Regions from separate parts of the Homo sapiens genome. Here region 2 is linked to region 1. The links are contacts of gene promoters, found by promoter capture Hi-C in blood cells and fetal thymus (Javierre and others, 2016). All regions are on one chromosome and are shown on one strand. Each heading gives the region's core, a stretch centred on a gene start or on the middle of the fragment in contact. The rest is flanking DNA. Distances are from core to core; before and after follow the strand shown.

Region 1 (4,448 bases), core at 1-2,500:
CCGTCACTGGGACTCAGGGCACGGAGATCGCTGGGCGGGGCGGGGGTCTTCCCAAGTGTTGCGATCCAGGTCCTGGCAATCCGCCCACAATGGCCCGGGATTGGATTTTGCTTTCGGCCTATAACGGCCGCGACGACAGGGAGCGAGGGTTGTGGCCGGCTTCTGTTCCGGGTTGGAGGCCCCCAGCCCAGCGCTTAGTGGGCGCTCACTGTGTATACTGCCTATTTGTATAATAAAGAAAGGGATGGAGAAGCTCAGTCTGGAGCCAAGGTGACAGAAACGTGTCGGGCGGCCCCTGGGGGGCGCCGTCGAGTCGCGCTGCGGGTCGCCCCTCACCCCTCCAAACGCCAAACCCTGGAATCCACTGCGGGGCCTTGCGACCCCTCACCGGGATTTCAGCCCCCTGACCTGCCTCCCTTGGCTCCAAGTCTTCCGGGGGCCACAAGACTAGGAATAGCATTATTTCCCGGTGGGAGTTTGCTTGCTCACACTTTCATGGCAAATGTAGATATTTTAAAGCCACCTTAAAGAAAAGTCTGGGAAACAGGAAAGCATTGCCCTGAACCTCTCCGCCCCAACTCGCTCGAGTCGGTCTTGGTAGGGACGACTTTTCTATCGGCAGAGTTGTTCATTTTTCTCTAAACTTCATCTTAGGCGCCTATTTGCTGCCCCCACCCCAGTAGTGTGGTTCTGGGCAAGTCAGTCGCTTCGCCTGGGGAACCTCAGTTTCCCCGCCTGTTAGTGATGAGGAAATGAGGAAAAGGGGCACAAGAGTATGCAAAAGCACAGGAAGCCCCTTTCGGTTCAGGTCGGCGGCCGAGGGGCACGGGGAAGGGGACTCGGGGAGGGAGAGAGGGAGGAGCGGCGAGGCCAAGGCAGGTGGCACGTCGCCCGTTCTCCCGGCCGCTCGCATCCCGGAGGTCAGCCTCAGCTGGCAGCGAGCCCTCCTCCTCCCCGCTGGGCCTGGAGCGCGGCGCGGGTCCGGTCCCTGGGGACGCGCCAAGAGCAGGCCGGACAGCAGGGCGGGGGCCGGGCCGCGAGCCAGCGCGCGGCGAGCGGACCCAGCTCCGAGGCTGATGACGTCTCCCCCTCTGGCTCGGCGGCGCCTGGCCTGGCAGGGCGGGTGACGTCACCGCCCCGTCACGTGATCACCATTCAAACAAACACCCCCCCTCCCCCTGCGCGCGGGTCTGGCCCGCCCCGTCCCCCAGAGGCCGCATATAAACGCGCTCCCCGGGCCAGGCTCGCTGCGAAGGACATTTGGGCTGTGTGTGCGACGCGGGTCGGAGGGGCAGTCGGGGGAACCGCGAAGAAGCCGAGGAGCCCGGAGCCCCGCGTGACGCTCCTCTCTCAGTCCAAAAGCGGCTTTTGGTTCGGCGCAGAGAGACCCGGGGGTCTAGCTTTTCCTCGAAAAGCGCCGCCCTGCCCTTGGCCCCGAGAACAGACAAAGAGCACCGCAGGGCCGATCACGCTGGGGGCGCTGAGGCCGGCCATGGTCATGGAAGTGGGCACCCTGGACGCTGGAGGCCTGCGGGCGCTGCTGGGGGAGCGAGCGGCGCAATGCCTGCTGCTGGACTGCCGCTCCTTCTTCGCTTTCAACGCCGGCCACATCGCCGGCTCTGTCAACGTGCGCTTCAGCACCATCGTGCGGCGCCGGGCCAAGGGCGCCATGGGCCTGGAGCACATCGTGCCCAACGCCGAGCTCCGCGGCCGCCTGCTGGCCGGCGCCTACCACGCCGTGGTGTTGCTGGACGAGCGCAGCGCCGCCCTGGACGGCGCCAAGCGCGACGGCACCCTGGCCCTGGCGGCCGGCGCGCTCTGCCGCGAGGCGCGCGCCGCGCAAGTCTTCTTCCTCAAAGGTACGCCCTCGGGGAAGCTCGGGGCGGGCCGCACACCCCTGAGGTTTTGCCCGGTACCCCTGGCTCTCGGCTCCCGGGGGATCGCCCCACCTGCAGCGCGTGGGCGCTGGAGTACATTTATCTCTGGAACTTGTCATTGGCTTTGTTTGGCTCTGGAAACAAAGACTTGCCTGGGCCTTTCCGATGTAAACTTCCAGCCCTTGGTGGGTGGGGGAGTTGTATGAAGGTGCCGTGTCCCGGTGTCACTAATGGGGAAAAAAAATGTCTTTGTATTCCCAGGAGGATACGAAGCGTTTTCGGCTTCCTGCCCGGAGCTGTGCAGCAAACAGTCGACCCCCATGGGGCTCAGCCTTCCCCTGAGTACTAGCGTCCCTGACAGCGCGGAATCTGGGTGCAGTTCCTGCAGTACCCCACTCTACGATCAGGTTAGTAGGTGTCCCTGCCACAGGGAAGAAGTAAGAACTGGCAAAGGCATGGAAGAGTAGTGCCAGGGAGAATATAGAAAGTGACCTGCAGCATTATTTATAACGGAGGGGACACAGGGATATGATTTATTCCACAGTTAAGTGGTCTGACGGAGCCGAGTCTCCAATTGTAGGCTCTACGGAAATGAACTTGCTGGTCCTGCCCAGGCAAATGGGCTTAGTTCCCTATTTATTTATCCTCCAGCAACAGAACTGAGTTCACTCGGTATCTGAAATTGACTTTTCCAGCAGAAAGTTTTTGTGGGTATGGGCACTGGCCTTGGCTTTGAGCAAGCTTGATGAATGTTGGATATTTCTGGATTTCAGGGTGGCCCGGTGGAAATCCTGCCCTTTCTGTACCTGGGCAGTGCGTATCACGCTTCCCGCAAGGACATGCTGGATGCCTTGGGCATCACTGCCTTGATCAACGTCTCAGCCAATTGTCCCAACCATTTTGAGGGTCACTACCAGTACAAGAGCATCCCTGTGGAGGACAACCACAAGGCAGACATCAGCTCCTGGTTCAACGAGGCCATTGACTTCATAGGTAAATGGAATGGATGCCTGGGGCTTTTCTGCCTTTCTCTTCTCATTTTAGCCACTAAGCCCAACCTCTGTGGCAAGAGCTTGAAGTTTTCTGAGCCTTCTTCCACACATTCAGTATCAGTCTGGTGTGGGCAACATTCCTGTAAAATATGAATTTGATTCGATGTCCCACTTTACAGATTTGCAAAGTGGGGCTCACAAAGTTGAATTGACTGGTCTGAGATCTATCTGCTAAGTGGAAATCCCCAGTCTGAGTTTAAATCCTGTGCCATCCTTTGCACAGTGCCCACGTTGCCTCCATGAACAGTATCCATGTGATGGCATGTGGTGATGTTGACCATTTCTAGACAAGACACACATGACCTTTCTCAGATACACTGTACCTGGGCTTGGGGTGGTTCTCCTGAACTCTCAAGTAACCAGCCGCTCCTTTGGTTTTCCAGACTCCATCAAGAATGCTGGAGGAAGGGTGTTTGTCCACTGCCAGGCAGGCATTTCCCGGTCAGCCACCATCTGCCTTGCTTACCTTATGAGGACTAATCGAGTCAAGCTGGACGAGGCCTTTGAGTTTGTGAAGCAGAGGCGAAGCATCATCTCTCCCAACTTCAGCTTCATGGGCCAGCTGCTGCAGTTTGAGTCCCAGGTGCTGGCTCCGCACTGTTCGGCAGAGGCTGGGAGCCCCGCCATGGCTGTGCTCGACCGAGGCACCTCCACCACCACCGTGTTCAACTTCCCCGTCTCCATCCCTGTCCACTCCACGAACAGTGCGCTGAGCTACCTTCAGAGCCCCATTACGACCTCTCCCAGCTGCTGAAAGGCCACGGGAGGTGAGGCTCTTCACATCCCATTGGGACTCCATGCTCCTTGAGAGGAGAAATGCAATAACTCTGGGAGGGGCTCGAGAGGGCTGGTCCTTATTTATTTAACTTCACCCGAGTTCCTCTGGGTTTCTAAGCAGTTATGGTGATGACTTAGCGTCAAGACATTTGCTGAACTCAGCACATTCGGGACCAATATATAGTGGGTACATCAAGTCCATCTGACAAAATGGGGCAGAAGAGAAAGGACTCAGTGTGTGATCCGGTTTCTTTTTGCTCGCCCCTGTTTTTTGTAGAATCTCTTCATGCTTGACATACCTACCAGTATTATTCCCGACGACACATATACATATGAGAATATACCTTATTTATTTTTGTGTAGGTGTCTGCCTTCACAAATGTCATTGTCTACTCCTAGAAGAACCAAATACCTCAATTTTTGTTTTTGAGTACTGTACTATCCTGTAAATATATCTTAAGCAGGTTTGTTTTCAGCACTGATGGAAAATACCAGTGTTGGGTTTTTTTTTAGTTGCCAACAGTTGTATGTTTGCTGATTATTTATGACCTGAAATAATATATTTCTTCTTCTAAGAAGACATTTTGTTACATAAGGATGACTTTTTTATACAATGGAATAAATTATGGCATTTCTATTGAAATTTCAACGCTTTTATTTCTTTGGCAACCACACCCAATCCCTCTCCCACTAGTGAACTAGGGAAGAATTTCGACAAGGGCCTGCAGAATGTGTTGAGATC
Region 2 (7,165 bases), core at 2,610-5,109, 660 kb after region 1:
GTGTGCTTGTTCATGGATCTTTGCGTCTCTTTCTGTAACATACCTTGAAGAGGAATTCTCAGAAGCAGAGTGCTGGGTGTGTGCAGTGAGTTGGGGTTTTGTTCATCCTGCAGCCGGCATGCCCTCCGTGCTGGTCATACCAGTTGACACCCCCCCCAGTGCAGTGTGCAATTCTCTTTTCACCACATCCTGGCCCCTACTGGGTTTTACTTAATAGAGAAAAAACAAAAAAACCCACAAAACCAAAAAACTTTGCTACATATGCATTTCAGTTTTTTAAACCATAGAAACAATACACTCTATCAAAAACATTTTAAAGAACAAAAGTGGGTCGGGCGCGTTGGCTCATGCCTGTAATCCTAGCACTTTGGGAGGCCGAGGCAGGTGGATCACCTGAGGTCGGGATTTTGAGACCAGCCTGACCAACATGATGAAACCCCCCGTCTCTACTAAAAATACAAAATTAGCCGGGCGTGGTGGCGCATGCCTGTAATCCCAGCTGCTTGGGAGGCTGAGGCAGGAGAATTGCTTGAACCCGGAAGGTGGAGGTTGCAGTGAGCCGAGATCGTGCCATTGCACTCCAGCCTGGGCAACAAGAATGAAACTCCATCTGAAAAAAAAAGAATAAAAGTGTGTAAAGTGAAAAATGTAGGGTCCTGGCCGGGTGCAGTGGCTCACACCTGTAATCCCAGCACTTTGGGAGGCCGAGGTGGGCGGATCATGAGGTCAGGAGATCGAGACCATCCTGGCTAACATGGTGAAACCCCGTCTCTACTAAAAAAAAAAAAATTAGCCGGGCATGGTGGCAGGTGCCTGTAGTGCCAGCTACTTGGGAGGCTGAGGCAGGAGAATGGCGTGAACCCAGGAGGTGGAGCTTGCAGTGAGCGAAGATCACACCACTGCACTCCAGCCTGGGTGACATGCGAGACTCTGTCTCAAAAAAAAAAAAAAAAAAAAAAAGTAAGGTCCCTTCTGTGCACTGCCCCCACCAAAATCCCACTTCCAGGGAGATGAACATTAAGTTTGATGTGCAGACTTCCAGACCGGTGTGTGTGTGTGTGTATGCACATGCGTGCAGACATGTACACACAAGATGCATATATTATTCCTTTAAAGATAATCTTCTACTGGAGTACCTGCACTTGGATCATTTCTGGAATCATGCTACACATTTTATAAGACTCATCAGTCAGTCAGCAACATGTTTGGGACATGTATTAATGTATTAGAGATACACTTCCAAGTTAGTCCATACAAATACAGCCTCATTCTTTTTAAGAGCTGCATGTTATTTCATAGCTGGGGTGAACCACAACTTATCTAACCATTCAGCAATGAAGCTCCAGCAACACTTTGGATGATTTCCAATTTTCCATTCTTTTTGGCTGTTGCTTTTATAAGCATCCATATATATTATAGATCTGGTTTTAGAGATGGATTTCTACAAATAGAATTGCTGGCAAACAAGTTTTTAAAACCCAGTTTTATTTTTTACATATATGAGTAAAGGCATTTTAGCAAATTCTGTCTCTTTATTTATTTATGAGCATGCTCATTCGATAAACCTGTTGAGTGCTTCCTGCTCCAGATAACGTGCCAGGGATACAACTGTGGCCACAGCAGAAATGATCTCTTTCTTTATGGAAATTACAGCGGAGAAAGGGAGATTTCCCTTATCTCCGCCGCCCTTGTCTCTAATACATTTTAAAATGGGAGGAGAAGGGGGAGTGTTTTCATCAGAAGAGACTGCATGGTGAAAATCCCTTTTGAATTGCTCAAGGGCAGCCATCAGCTATCAAGGGACACTCCCTTATAAACTCTGCGGAGGGAGCAAACAGGCTCAGTTCTCTGGGCTGCAAGGTGGGGCTGCCCCACTCTCCCATCTGGGCCCCATCGTGTGGGGCAGAAGGGGAAGTAGCAGCTACCCAAAGAGCTGGCTGGTGCGTGCCTGAGGGAGGCCCTGGGGACCTACGGTGTGTCATTGCACGTTGGTGGTTTCTGTTTCTCGTCTCTCTTCTCAGGAAGGGATCGGCAGGGCCTGTGGTCGGGGAGTGGCCACCTTTTGGGATCCTCACCCTGGGCCTGAGAGGCAGTCACTGTTCCCAAAAGGTTTCCTGGGATGGGATGATGTGCCAGCCCTTAGTGGTGTTTGCGAGGGAGCCAGGCCCACAGGGGGGCCTGGCTGACCCAGCAGGAAGGTGGGGCCAGCTTCCCATTCTTACCCTGGAGGCCCAGGGGAGCCGCCTGCCAGAGTCATCAGCAGAGCCAGGCTCTACCTGGGTTTCCTGCTTCTGCACCTCACTTGCAGCACCTGTTGGTCCCACTTCAGGAGGCTGAGGGCCCCCTGTCCCCTCTTGCTGGCCAGACTGTCCCCTGATATAGCAACTGCTGTCCAGTTAGCACTAACCGGGGCTCAGAAGCCAGCTTTCCTGACCACTCCCAGGAGGTGCCGGGGGGTCTTAGTTCAGCCTCAGCCTTGCCCCAGCCTGAAAAAGGCTGGACTGGCTCATGGGCCGGTGAAAGAATCACCATCTTCTCGCTTTTGCCACGAGTGGACCTTGCATCACAGTGCTTTGCGTTTGTCATTTAATCCTCAGGAAAACCTGCGCAATGGTTCTGTGCTATCACCCCCGTGTCACAGATGGGGAAACTGAGGCTCAGAGGCTTTGTAACTGCCCTGCCCGTCTCCTGCCTTATCTGCTTCCACCCCCGGCCCCCTCCTTCCGGCCAGGCTGTGTCCTGTCCCCGCTGGTCCCTCCAGCCTGCTGTTTCCTGCCTCCCAGTCTGTTTGCAGTTTTCTCTGCCTGGAAATACCTCCCCCAGATCCTGAGTTTGTGTCTAAAGTAGCTCCCCACCCTGCACCCCAGCACTGTGTTCTTCTCCCTGCCTTCTCAGCCCTGGGCCCTTCTCGCTGCCAGGCATTCCGGGGGTTTTGCCAGGTGCCTGTCGCCACCACGGGAATAACATGTGGCATGTCAGGCAGGACTTGGTTGCTTTCATCTCTGTGCCTAGAACAGTGTCGGGCACATAATAGATGTGCAGTTAGTGTATGCTGAATAAAACTGTCCTTCCTCCAAAGCCCCCAGCCCTCCCTCCATGACCGTCCCCTCGAGGTCACACCCCCTACTGTGCACTCTTGAGTAGCCCCGGTCCTGTCTTCCCAACACTTTCCATGTTAGGAGTAGATGTTTGTTTATTTGCTTACTCTCTGCTCCCCCAACTAAACTGTGGATTCCCCGAGGGTCCTCATTGTATTCTCTGATCCCGGCTAGTGTCTCGCTCCTGATGGAGCCTGGTGAGCACCTGAATGAATGGGTGAGTGGACAGTGAAGCAGAAGAGCAGAGGCTGGAACCAAGTTCTCCCGTATTCAGGCCCAGCCTCTTGGCATTGTGCTGCCTCCTTGTTTCACGTTGCAAGTCTGAAAGGAGCTCCTGGATACAGCTCATTTCAAGACCAGGCACTGGTGCCCGGGGTGGCCTGAAGTTGTCATAATGCTGCAGCTTCTTGGGATGAATCGTCCAAAGGCAGCCATCATCTAGCAGGGGACACCCCTCATAAATTCCATTCAGGGAGTTTCAAATGGAGCATCCCGGGTTCTCTCAAAGTGTTGTTTCATCCTGAATCTATTTTTCAGTCAAGATGAAACTTCACCACAGAAGGCAGGAGCCCTGGAGAAAATTTCTCTTGGTAGCGCTGAATTCTTCTCTTAGCAGCGGGTGTGTGAGGAAAGACTGAGAGTGTTGGAATGCATGTAAAGATACATCTTATTGGCCGGTCCTGGTGCCTCACGCCTGTAATCCTAGCACTTTCGGAGGCCAAGGCAGGAGGATTGCTTGAGCCCAGGGTTCAAGACCAGCCTGGGCAACATAGAGACTCCATCTCTACAAAAAATACAAAAATTAGCCGGGTGTGGTGGCATACACCTGTAGTCTCAGCTACTCGGGAGGATTGCTTGAGCCTGGGAGGTTGAGGCTGCAGTGAGCCATGATTGTGCCACTGCACTCCAGCTTGGGTGACAGAGTGGACTCTGTCATGAAAAAAAAAAAAAAGTGTTCATTTATTTTTGCTAGTCCTGCAAATAATACACTTTATCATAGCAAAGGTGTGGAAGTCTCACCACCCACACACAGCCATTTAAGTAGTGTGGTATATTTCCTCCAAGTCAGTTCAGTGTGTATTTTTCCCCTTTTTGGAGTGAGAGGGGCATGATTCTGACCAGACAGTATATTCAACTGTGTATCCCCCTTCTCCCCACTTAACCTTTTACAGTAATATAAATAGTAATCAGTAAGGCCGGGCGCAGTGGCTCACGCCTATAATCCCAGCACTTTGGAAGGCCAAGGCTGGTGGACCACCTGAGGTTAGGAGTTCAAGACAAGCCTGGGCAACGTGGTGAAACTCCATCTCTACTAAAAATACAAAAATTAGCTGGGCATGTCGGCACATGCCTGTAATGTCATCTACTTGGGAGGCTGAGGCACAAGAATCGCTGGAACCCGGGAGGTGGAGGTTACAGTGAGCCAAGATTGCGCCACTGCACTCCAGCCTGGGTGACAGAGCAAGACTCCATCTCAAAAAAATAATAATAAATTAATAAATAGTAATAAATACCGCCCAGGTTGGAGTGCAGTGGCACAATCCTGGCTCACTGCAGCCTCTGCCTCCTGGGTTCAAGTGATTCTCCCACCTCAGCCTCCCAAGTAATTGGGACTGCAGGGACATGCCACCACACCTGGCTAATTTTTTTTTTTTTTTTTTTTTTGAGACAGTCTCACTCTATTGCCTGGGCTGGAGCGCAGTGGTGCGATTGCAGCTCCCTGCAGCCTCCACCTCCCGGGTTCAAGCGATTTTTGTGCCTCAGCCCCCCAAGTATCTGGGATTACAGGCGTCCACCACCACACCTGGCTAATTTTTGTATTTTTAGTAGAGACTGGGTTTTGCCACGTTGGCCAGGTTGATCTCCAACTCCCAGCCTCAAGCGATCTGCCTGTTTCAGCCTCCCAAAGTACTGGGATTACAGGCGTGAGCCACCCTGCCTGGCCTCCATTTTTCTTAATCTATATAAAAAGTTTTAAAATCACTGCCTGATAGCCAAGCAATTATGGTTGTTTTCAGTGTGTCACTATTATTATAATTTTATAATGGCACTGTTATTATAATGGGATTTTGATTAACATCATTATGCATTTTTTTAAATTTAAGACTGTTTCATTAGGGCAGAGTCCTGGATTTGGAATTACTGGATTAAAATGGTATGGGTATTTTAAAGGTTCTTGCTATTTATTGCCAAATTGCTTTCCTGAAGGCTGCTGCCAGTGCAGGCTCTCGTTAGTAGAGAGGAAAGTGTTCATCTCGGTACTTCCTCTCAGCAGCAGATAGTCTTACATTTTTAATGCTTTCTAATTTGCTAGATAGAAAATGGCATCTGTTAGTCGACTTGGAATGTGTACCCCTGAGTCCACATCCCCGGCTTTTACCCCAGGGCTATGGGTGGAAAACGCTAGCTGAGATTTTGTCTTGCAGCTGACTTTGGTGTGTCTGCCAAGAATCTGAAGACTCTACAGAAACGAGATTCCTTCATCGGCACGCCTTACTGGTGAGTCGTGTAGCTTCTGGAAATGGAATGGACTGGATGTAAAAACTCTCCAAGGTGACCACCAGGCGCTTTAGACAGAGAGGGGCCGGAAGACAAGGGCTACACGCCCTGCCTCGTGGCTTACTAGCTGTGTGACCTTGGACAAGCTGTTTAGCTTTCCCGTGCGTCAGTTTCTTCATCCATAAAATTAGGGATATAATGGCCCCTACTTAATAAGGCTACTGTGAGAATGAAATGAAATGGTGCACATAGAAGGCACTCCATTAATAACTGAACTAGAATCCATAAAACAGGATTCAGTTCGTGATTTATTCGCCACGTATGTATTGAGGGCCGGGGATGGGGACCGTGAAGGTGAACAGTACAAGTTCAATTCCTACCGTCATGTGAAGTCTCCCTGGACTTCTGTAGTCTGTCGTGTTTCCTTCTTTTCCAGAACTATTACTTTAAAAGCAAAACACTGTCACTCAATTTCACGCCTGACTACTCTCTGTTTGCCGTGTTTCCAATTTTTTCATGTGCATTACTTGCCATTGTGTAGTTTGGGCTCCTTTCTTGCTTGCTTGTTACTCACCCTTGCTCTCTCTCTCCCCCCTTTTATACCTGTTTCTCCTCTCTGTGCTGGTGTCTTCTCGCCCACCCACCTCCACGCCCCTTTTTTTTTGCTCCGCACCTTCCCCTCCGCTCCCACCCGCCCCCTCCCCAGGACTCTGTGTTCCGGGTTGCTGCTGCCATCTCGCGGTAGGCATCGGAACTGCAGCAGGACGTGGCGGGGAGCCGCGTGGAGGCGTTTTTCTGTGGAAGAGCGTCCTAAGGAAGACAGTGGGATGCAAAGTCACGCAGATCATGATTCGGGAGTGCTGCCAACCCCGACAGTGGCTCGTGGTGGCCCTTGACCCTGAATGTCCAAGAAGCACCTGTAAAGGCCAGATTCTTAGCCCTATGTTGTCCCTTGGTTGGTTCAGGATGGCCCCCGAGGTGGTCATGTGTGAGACCATGAAAGACACGCCCTACGACTACAAAGCCGACATCTGGTCCCTGGGCATCACGCTGATTGAGATGGCCCAGATCGAGCCGCCACACCACGAGCTCAACCCCATGCGGGTCCTGCTAAAGATCGCCAAGTCGGACCCTCCCACGCTGCTCACGCCCTCTAAGTGGTGAGGGGCAGGGGCAGGGCCACCTGCCGGGGTGCCTGCGCCGGGATTAGGGCTGGAATATGTGGTGGACGGGGCTGGGGAGGTGCAGTGGTAGCGTTCTCCTGGTGCTGCTAGCTCCAAAGGAGAGGTTGGGGCCTGGGGGTCTTCAGGCGTTTCTGAGCCCCCCCGGGCCCTTCGTGCCTCTTTTTCCCTTTGTGTTCCTTTTTTTTTTTTTTTTTGAGATAGGGTCTCACTCTTTTGCCCAGGCTGGAGTACAGTGGTGCAGTCATAGCTCACTGCAACCTCGACCTCCTAGGCTCAAGAGATCCTCACACCTCAGCCTCCCTTGTAGCCGAGAGTACAGGCACCCACCACCATGCCTGGCTAATTTTCTGTAGAGACAAGGTCTCCTATGTTGCCCAGGCTGGT

The links. Contacts are between HindIII fragments. The CHiCAGO score rates a contact against its expected background, and 5 or more counts as called.
Region 2: a contact is called between a fragment that was not itself captured here and the fragment with the promoter of DUSP1 in region 1, in 1 of 17 cell types (naive CD8 T cells). The highest score is 6.0, in naive CD8 T cells.

What each region holds. Positions count from the first base shown.
Region 1 is chr5:172,767,997-172,772,444 of GRCh38, reverse strand. DUSP1 (dual specificity phosphatase 1) reads left to right here and starts at 1,250. Exons shown (of 4, transcript NM_004417.4): 1 at 1,250-1,859; 2 at 2,139-2,284; 3 at 2,651-2,870; 4 at 3,313-4,349. The coding sequence starts at 1,493. The coding sequence ends at 3,683. It overlaps LOC105377730 (a long non-coding RNA gene), which reads right to left and starts at 234. Exons shown (of 3, transcript NR_188285.1): 1 at 1-234. RefSeq lists enhancers at 1-202, 1-239, 1-775, 240-1,001, 1,423-1,692 and 1 more and silencers at 803-1,252, 1,793-1,902, 4,316-4,448. The HindIII fragment of the contact is 7,766 bases long and covers 1-2,620 here.
Region 2 is chr5:172,106,212-172,113,376 of GRCh38, reverse strand. It overlaps STK10 (serine/threonine kinase 10), which reads left to right. Exons shown (of 19, transcript NM_005990.4): 5 at 5,525-5,597; 6 at 6,563-6,757. Among named protein-coding and RNA genes, the nearest start is that of STK10, 78 kb to the left of the region's middle. RefSeq lists an enhancer at 1,820-2,289. The HindIII fragment of the contact is 9,126 bases long and covers 1-7,165 here.